2 separate regions of the Homo sapiens genome follow, and region 1 is linked to region 2. The links are contacts of gene promoters, found by promoter capture Hi-C in human tissues and cell types (Jung and others, 2019). All regions are on one chromosome and are shown on one strand. Each heading gives the region's core, a stretch centred on a gene start or on the middle of the fragment in contact. The rest is flanking DNA. Distances are from core to core; before and after follow the strand shown.

Region 1 (3,626 bases), core at 931-3,430, 51 kb before region 2:
GGAAGCCCTGTTGTCTCGTCTAAGGAGTGGCCTGGACCCTCCTGCATGGCAGAACCAATGGGCATCTTGAAATGACTTTTAGTCTCGTCAACTGTCCAGGGCTCCAGGCCCCCATGAGAGGCACATCTGGCCGTAGCGTCACCAGAGCCCTTAGTCTCCCCCGGACTCGGAGCTCACCTTGAAAACTGAGGCTTAGCCCGTTCATTCCTGTGGCTCAGCCCAGCACACATGGCCATGCATGTGGCTGAGAGCCCCTCCCAGCTCAGCTCCTCCCATCCTGCATTCCACCCACCTTTCTCCAGGGAGCACGCCTGAATGTCGGCGTTCCTGTAAATTCCCACGTTGAAATCCTAACCGCCAGTGTGCTGGTTTCAGGAGGTGAGGCCTTTGGGAGGTGATGAGGGGTCAAAGGCAGAGCCCTCATGAATGGGATGAGTGCCCTCATAAAAGGGGCCCCAGAGAGACCCGACGCCTTTCCCATGTGAGGACACAGAGAGGAGGTGCCGGCTCTTGGGCACAGACCCTCGCCCAGCCCAGAATATCCCCATGCCTTGATCTTGGACTTCCGGCCTCCAGAACTGTGAGAAATGAATTTCTGTTGCTCACAAGCCACACAGTCTGGTGGATTTTCTTACAGCAGCCTGAGCAGATTAAGACAAGCACCTCCCAAAGAATCACTGGCACAGCAATCCCTGTCTTCAGCCTCCAGGGAACCTGACCTACGACAGCAGCCCTCCCAGCTGGCATTCCGGCTGCCATGTGCTGTGATGGGTGCCAGCACCTCTTAGTTTGGGTGAAGGGGAGAGGCCAGCAGCATAGCAAAGGGGAAATCCTTCTGGATCGTCGCCTCTCTCTCTCCAACCCTCTCCATCACCAGCATCAACCTGCAAGTCAGGTCACCTTGAGCCAAAGCCAGAAAGCCCCACACTCGCTGGGCTGCTCCATGCTCAGGCTGTTCCCTGCTCAGCGCTCCACACTTCATGGTAGAGTCCCCTGAAGTTCTCCTGCCCAGAAGTTCCTTCTTTCTGCCCAGACCTCGCTCAGCACCATCATCCTAGGAATAAAATCCCAGGAATAAACTCATCATTCCAGGCCTCCTAGGAACTTGGGTTCTGGTCTTGTCTCTGCCCCGCCCTCTCGTGCAGCTGCTGGGGGCCTCCAGCCCCTGCTCACTCACCCACGCCCTCTGCACCCTCCACTTGAGAGAATTCTGGTCATTCCCCTGGCCCTGCCCTGCCCCGTTGTCTGGGAGTTGCTGGAGGGTTGGCTCATCCCCTCGCCCTCTCCCTGTCTCTTGGTGTGTCCGGCCAGGGCTCACACAGAGGCAGCTCCAGGGAAATTCCTGTAGCTCAACTGCTGGGTCCTGCATTGCCACCACAGTCACAGCCAGCTTGAGCGGTGACGGGGGGAAGAAGTGAGGCAGGGGAGCTGACTCGCAGGTGGGGCTTTCAGGAAGGAGGCATTCTACAACCCCAGGGCACCATGGGGGTGCCCCTTGGAGGCTTGAAAGCCCCTTTGGTCCTGGGCAGGACCTCCAGAGGGAGCACGGCCAGCAGTTTGGGGTGGACCTGCCCAGATCTTGTCTTCTGCATAAACAGGCACACGGCCTGGGCTTCCCTGCTACTCACACCTTGATTGGTGGCTTTCTTGCGTCCCCTCTATAGCAGAGGCTTGTTCATCTTAACCACTGAGGTCTCTTACGTTCTCTAACTGGCCTCTGATTGGAAGACAGGACTCTCCTGTCACAATCATCATTACTTTGTTTTACCTTCGATGTTGCACTGGACATCTTTGTGCGGTGACCTCTCTCTGTTTGTGCGAGTATTTCCACAACATAGACCTCTAGAGGTGGAAGTGCCAGGTAAGTTCTGGGAGATTCCACCAAATTGTCCTCCAAACCCCTGTGCCAGATGCGCTGATGGGAGTGTGCCTGTTCCTTGCGTCCCCTCCCTGGCTGCCATTACCAAGGGGGCTGTCTCCGCCGGGCTCTAAGCACACGCGTCGCCATCGCTGTTTAATTTTCTCATCTTAATGGTGGTGAGGCCAAGCAAACACGGCCTGGCCATGGTGTGTCCTGTGGATGCCTGTGTTTTTCTCTGCCCATTTTTGTCTCCTGTTGATCATCTTCCACCACCAGGTCCTTCTGAAACAGCTTTGTCCTGTATCTGGAGAGAAGCACGTGAGGTTGGCCCGGGGCTGCCCACGACGGTGCCGCCTGGGTCCTGGAGAGAAGCGCGTGGGGTTGGCCCGGGGCTGCCCACGACGGTGCCGCCTGGGTCCTGGAGAGAAGCGCGTGGGGTTGGCCCGGGGCTGCCCACGACGGTGCCGCCTGGGTCCTGGAGAGAAGCGCGTGGGGTTGGCCCGGGGCTGCCCACGACGGTGCCGCCTGGGTCCTGGAGAGAAGCGCGTGGGGTTGGCCCGGGGCTGCCCACGACGGTGCCGCCTGGGTCCTGGAGAGAAGCGCGTGGGGTTAGTGCGGGGCTGCCCACGACGGTGCCGCCTGGGTCCTGGAGAGAAGCGCGTGGGGTTGGCCCGGGGCTGCCCACGACGGTGCTGCCTTGGTCCTGGCTTCTGGCCTGCTGCATGGTGGGACTCCACCTGGCTGGTTCCAGCCCCGTCTGCCCCCACTTCTGCTGCCTGTGCGTGGCGTCCAGAAGAACTGGGGCCCAGGACAGAAGGAAATGGGAAGAATGTCAGGGTGTGTAAGTCACCCAGAAGTACAAATGTTCCTCGAAAATGCTGAGCCGCTCTGTCCTGAGCTCCAAGAAACTTGCAGCTGTGCTGAATTACGTGTGGCCACAGCGGCTAAGGAGTCACAGCTAAGAATGTGCTGAGACCAGGCCAGCTTCTCAGATTGCAGAACTGGTAGCTCAGATCCTGGGGCTGTGACAGCTGGACCCGCAGGGTCCTCCTGCTTTGGACCCTCCCATGCGTATCTTAGCCAGGAATCTTTCCAGATTCTAGTTGCTAGAGGCAAAAATCTCAACCCCAAATGGCTTAGCAAAGGGAATGTATTGATTTGTGTGATGAAAATTCTAGAACAAAGTTCAATTTCAGGTGTGGCTTGATCCAGCAGCTCAGCACTATTGCTGAGAACCAGGATTCTCTGTGTATGTTTGCAGTTCCGTCTTCATCCTGAGACCCCAGGATGCTTCTGGCAGCTTCTAAGGCTGCAAGCTTCATGATTCGCCTCCAGCAAGAGAAAGTAGCCTTGCACCGGCATCCCAGCTGAAAGCTCACGCTCCACCCTGATGGGCCTAGCTGGGGTCATGTGTCCACTTCCAAACAATCACCGGCCAGGAGGATAGAATGTGCTGACTGGGTGCCCTGGGCTCCAAGCTCCAGCCCTGAGGCCCATGTGGACTCAGTTTCCCCAGACTGTGAGGACCCCTAGCAGAAGACCAAGGTGTTGGGCACGGAGGGCGAGGTATTGAGAGCCTTGCCTCAAACCGGTGCTGTGTGGCTGGGCTTCCATGGTCCCGAGGGACCGGGAAACTCTTCCTGTGTGATCGGAGTTGTTCCCATGTGTCCCCAGGCCCAGCCAGTTGCCGACAGCCAGAGCGGTACCAACACTGGTGACCGAGTGGTGGGCATTACCAGCTTCCCAAACTGGGATGCCTCTCTCC
Region 2 (3,743 bases), core at 346-2,845:
GGCCGCCAAACAGTTCAGTGTCCTGGGAAGCAGGCACTCAGGGCCTGCCCAGGATGCGCAGGCCTTATCACACAGAAGCAGGTGGCAGGGTGCCCCCAGGGACCCCACTGTCCCTACAATCCCCACACATCTTCTCCATGTGGGCCACCATCCTGGAAACGTGCTGTTCATTTTCGGATGTACCCCAAATGCACAGATTTCATCCTGGCCTGAGATGTCTGCCCATGGCCCAAACACATCAAAGTCCCAGGGGATCCAGATTCATCCTCAGGGCACCAGACATCCCCCAGCTCTGTTCCAGGGAAACAAGCCCAGCCCGCTTTCCCCAGCTTTAGGCGAGGCAGGGCTCCAGGGAGACCTGGAGCAACTTGGAGCAGCAGTCCTCTCTGTGGCTGACCGGCCTGCTGGGGGCAGTTTCCACCTCCTCCTGCAGCAGTGTGAGAGGCTGTCTGCTACCCCACTGATGCGGATGTCCAGGCTTGGAGCCGTCTTGGGACTCCATTGCCGTCCCTGCTGTCACTGTTCACCCTGCTTAGCGCATCTGCCCGGGCCCACTTTGTGGAAAACACTCATTTGACGTCAACCTGCCTGACACCCCATTCCAGGTCTTTCTCCTTTAGCAGGACCCAGATCCAGGCCACGTGAAGATGTTACAGCTGCCAGAGCTGGAAAGAAAAATATCAACCTGGAAGCCTCTGTAGGGAGTTAGCCACAAGGGTGGCAGGATTGGATACTGGCTGCAGGGAGCGAAATTCAACACCTTGACCAGAAGGGCGTCCAGGTTGGGGATGCTGAGGGGTTAGGAACTGAGAACTGGGCTCTCTTTGCACAGTTGCTGCTAAGAAGGGGCTGTCCATCCTCGAACAAAGATGACAAGTCCCCTGGCCCGGCCTAGGCTGGGGCACAGAGCACTGCTTTTCCTCCTGGTGATGAAATCGGGGTCAAGAATCTAACATGAGAACTTGGTTATAAGCCGGCGAGCCTCTCGCAGGTCCAGGGGTGCATCCACACAACAGCTGACCTCCGGGACCGGGCCCAGGGCTCCGCTGCGGCTGAAGGCCAGGGCCGCAAAGCGAACAAAGCCCGCAGGTCCCGCGGCAAGGGCCGAGGCGCGCGACCTGGAACACGCGGGGGCTCGGAGCTCTGGGCGGGCAGGTGTTTGCGCGCGGGGGAAGGGCAGACCGACCCCGGACAGACCCGTAGCCCAGCTGTCGGACCAGAACAGCGTTTAGTCTTCGGACCTTGGGGAAAACTACAGAGGCCTCAGTGCCGGTAGCGCGTCGGGGGTGCGGCTGTGGCCGGGGTGTGTGTGGGCGGCTGTACACCTGGCAGCAGCCCGCCAGCCCCTTCCCGCCAGGCCCCGCGGCGCCTCCGGACACGCCCCACGTGACTTCCCCGGCTCAGGGCTTCCCCGCCCAGCCGGCTGCGGTCCCCGCCCCGCCGCACGAGACTGGGACCTGAGAGCGAAATCCATCCCGTAAGACGGGAGCGCGCAGGCGCGAAGTGTGGCGGCCCGGCGCGGCGCTCCCGGCCTGCCCCGCGTGCACGCTGACGCCGCGCAGTCTCGTCCCCTGCCGCCGCCGTCGCCGCTGCTGTCGCCGCCGCCGCCGCCATTGGAGTCGACGCCTCCTCAGTGCGTCCGCGTCCCGGGCTCACCGCCGCTGCCGCCTCGCCAGGGGCCCGCGCGCCCAGCAGCCGCCGCCGCCGCCCGGCCGGCGCCCGGGGAATTGGCGGCGGGGCCCGGGGCCGCGCGAGCTAGGGTGACAGGCCCGGCCTCTAGGGGAGGCCCGAGCCGGCGGGCGCCCCGGCCCCGCGTCTAGTTGTTCATGAAGCATGTCGGCCACCAGCGTGGACACCCAGGTAGCGGGGCCGGGTTACAGGGGCCGCGGCCGGGGCCGAGGCGCGGGGTCTGGGTTGAGGTCCTGGGGCTGGAACGCAGAGCCCGGGGTCGCGGAGGCCGGGCCCAGGCGGGACCGGGGTCTCGGGGCCGGGGTCGCACGTGACCGCGCGTCGGGGCCGGCGGAGCTCGCGGCCCGTTGGAGACCAGTTCTCTGGTGAATAACTTTGTGTTTCCCTCTTCCCCCGGGTTGTGTGTACCCCACGTCCCGGCCTGCGGCGGTGCAGAGAACAAAAGGACAAGATAATAAAGGTGAGCGGAGTCCCGGGACGGCCGGCGCGGGCTGGAGTGGAGGAGGACGGGGAAGGAACGGTCCAGGAAGCTGCGTCTGGAACCGGAAACTTTCTCTCTTCCGCCAGCTTCAGGGAGATAAAACTTGAGGTTGTGCGACGATTCTGGGAGATTTGACAGGTCGAAGACAGGGGCTTCTCAAGAAGTGAATAAATGATTGCTCAGAGTAGTTTGGGCCCGTCTCTCCCCACCGCATGATCATGGATTTGCTTTGGGGAAGGGGAGGTAGGAGAGCCGGGTGGACATGGCCGCAGGGGTTGAGCGACTTGCCTTTTTCCGCCCAGCAGGGGCTGCTCTAGGAGAGGGGCAGTCCAAGGTTCTGCAGGCTAAGCTCCACATCCCCGGTAGTTGCAGCCCGTTTTCCAAGTCTGTTAGCATCTCCTGTGACATTATGGCTTGGGATAAACCCTCAGAGCGCACTCATGTGAAAACTGTTAAGTGACACTTCACGTTTACTTGGAACACTTTTTTAGCCAGTTTGTGTGTCAGCTCAGGTGTAACCAAATACGGTTCATCGTGTTTTAAGATTGGAAAAGGCCCAGCACTTTATTTACCTTTGCTTGCTTTTTCTGGCTGAGCATAATAACAGTGGGAAGGTAAGTGGTGTAAAAGGAAAACCAGTCTTGGGGCACCCAAATCACTGAGCCAAAGGGAGAAAGCTACGCTGAGAACTGCTGAGGGCAAACCTGCCTCCCATTCTATTCCTGAAAAAGATAGCTTCTAAGACAAAAAAAGTTACATACTTCCCCCACAGTTTGCCCACAAGGAAATTCCTGGTGGACAAAGGACAGAACTCAGAGTCATTCCTGCTCACTGAGATAAATGCTTATCTGATTGCTTCCTTTGGAAAGGCTAATCAGAAACTCGAAAGAATGCAGCCGTTTGTCTCTTATCTACCTATGACCTGGAAGCCCCCTCCCTGCTTCAAGTTGTCCCGCCTCTCCGGACCAAACCAATGTACATCTTACATTGATGGTTCTCATGTCTCCCTAAAATGTATAAAACTAAGCTGTCCCCCGACTACCTTGGGCACATGTTGTCAAGACCTCCTGAGGTTGTATCATGGGTGTGTCCTTAACCTTGGCAAAATAAATTTTCTAAATTAACTGAGACCTGTCTCAGATATTTGGGGTTCACTGTGGAGAGTCAGATAATAGCTCCCAACAGTCCTTCAGTTGCAGCCCCTTCCCTCCTAAGTTTTCTTCCCTCCGTTCTCCATACGTTTGGGCATACATTCTGCATTTGGGCTTTTGGAGGCTCCACTTCTTTTTGCCACACATAAGTCTTCTTAGACCATGTCAGTTTTCACCCTGGTTATGTGTTCCTTGCATTATGTGTTAACACTTGATTTGGTTAATCTCACCAAATTACGATTAAGCCTTTATTTAAAATTTATCCTAAATTATTGAAAGTTTCCCGTCCCCCTTCTAATTAGTTGTATAAACATCAGTTCTATACTGGTTGTACTCCTTTTAAAATTAAAGCATAATTTCTGCTAGAAATAGATGGAAATAGACTTTGCTAACTTTGCCTTCCAAGCTTAAAAGTAATCTTT

What was found. Contacts are between HindIII fragments. The study calls those that stand out against the background at their distance.
Region 1: a fragment that was not itself captured here is called in contact with the fragment with the promoter of YTHDF1 in region 2 in 1 of the 25 tissues and cell types used here (dorsolateral prefrontal cortex).

The regions. Positions count from the first base shown.
Region 1 is chr20:63,265,527-63,269,152 of GRCh38, reverse strand. No RefSeq gene overlaps it. Among named protein-coding and RNA genes, the nearest start is that of ARFGAP1, 5.5 kb to the left of the region's middle. The HindIII fragment of the contact is 7,334 bases long and covers 1-3,626 here.
Region 2 is chr20:63,213,983-63,217,725 of GRCh38, reverse strand. YTHDF1 (YTH N6-methyladenosine RNA binding protein F1) reads left to right here and starts at 1,595. Exons shown (of 5, transcript NM_017798.4): 1 at 1,595-1,860; 2 at 2,125-2,149. The coding sequence starts at 1,834. RefSeq lists silencers at 1,243-1,522, 1,653-1,722. The HindIII fragment of the contact is 8,217 bases long and covers 1-3,743 here.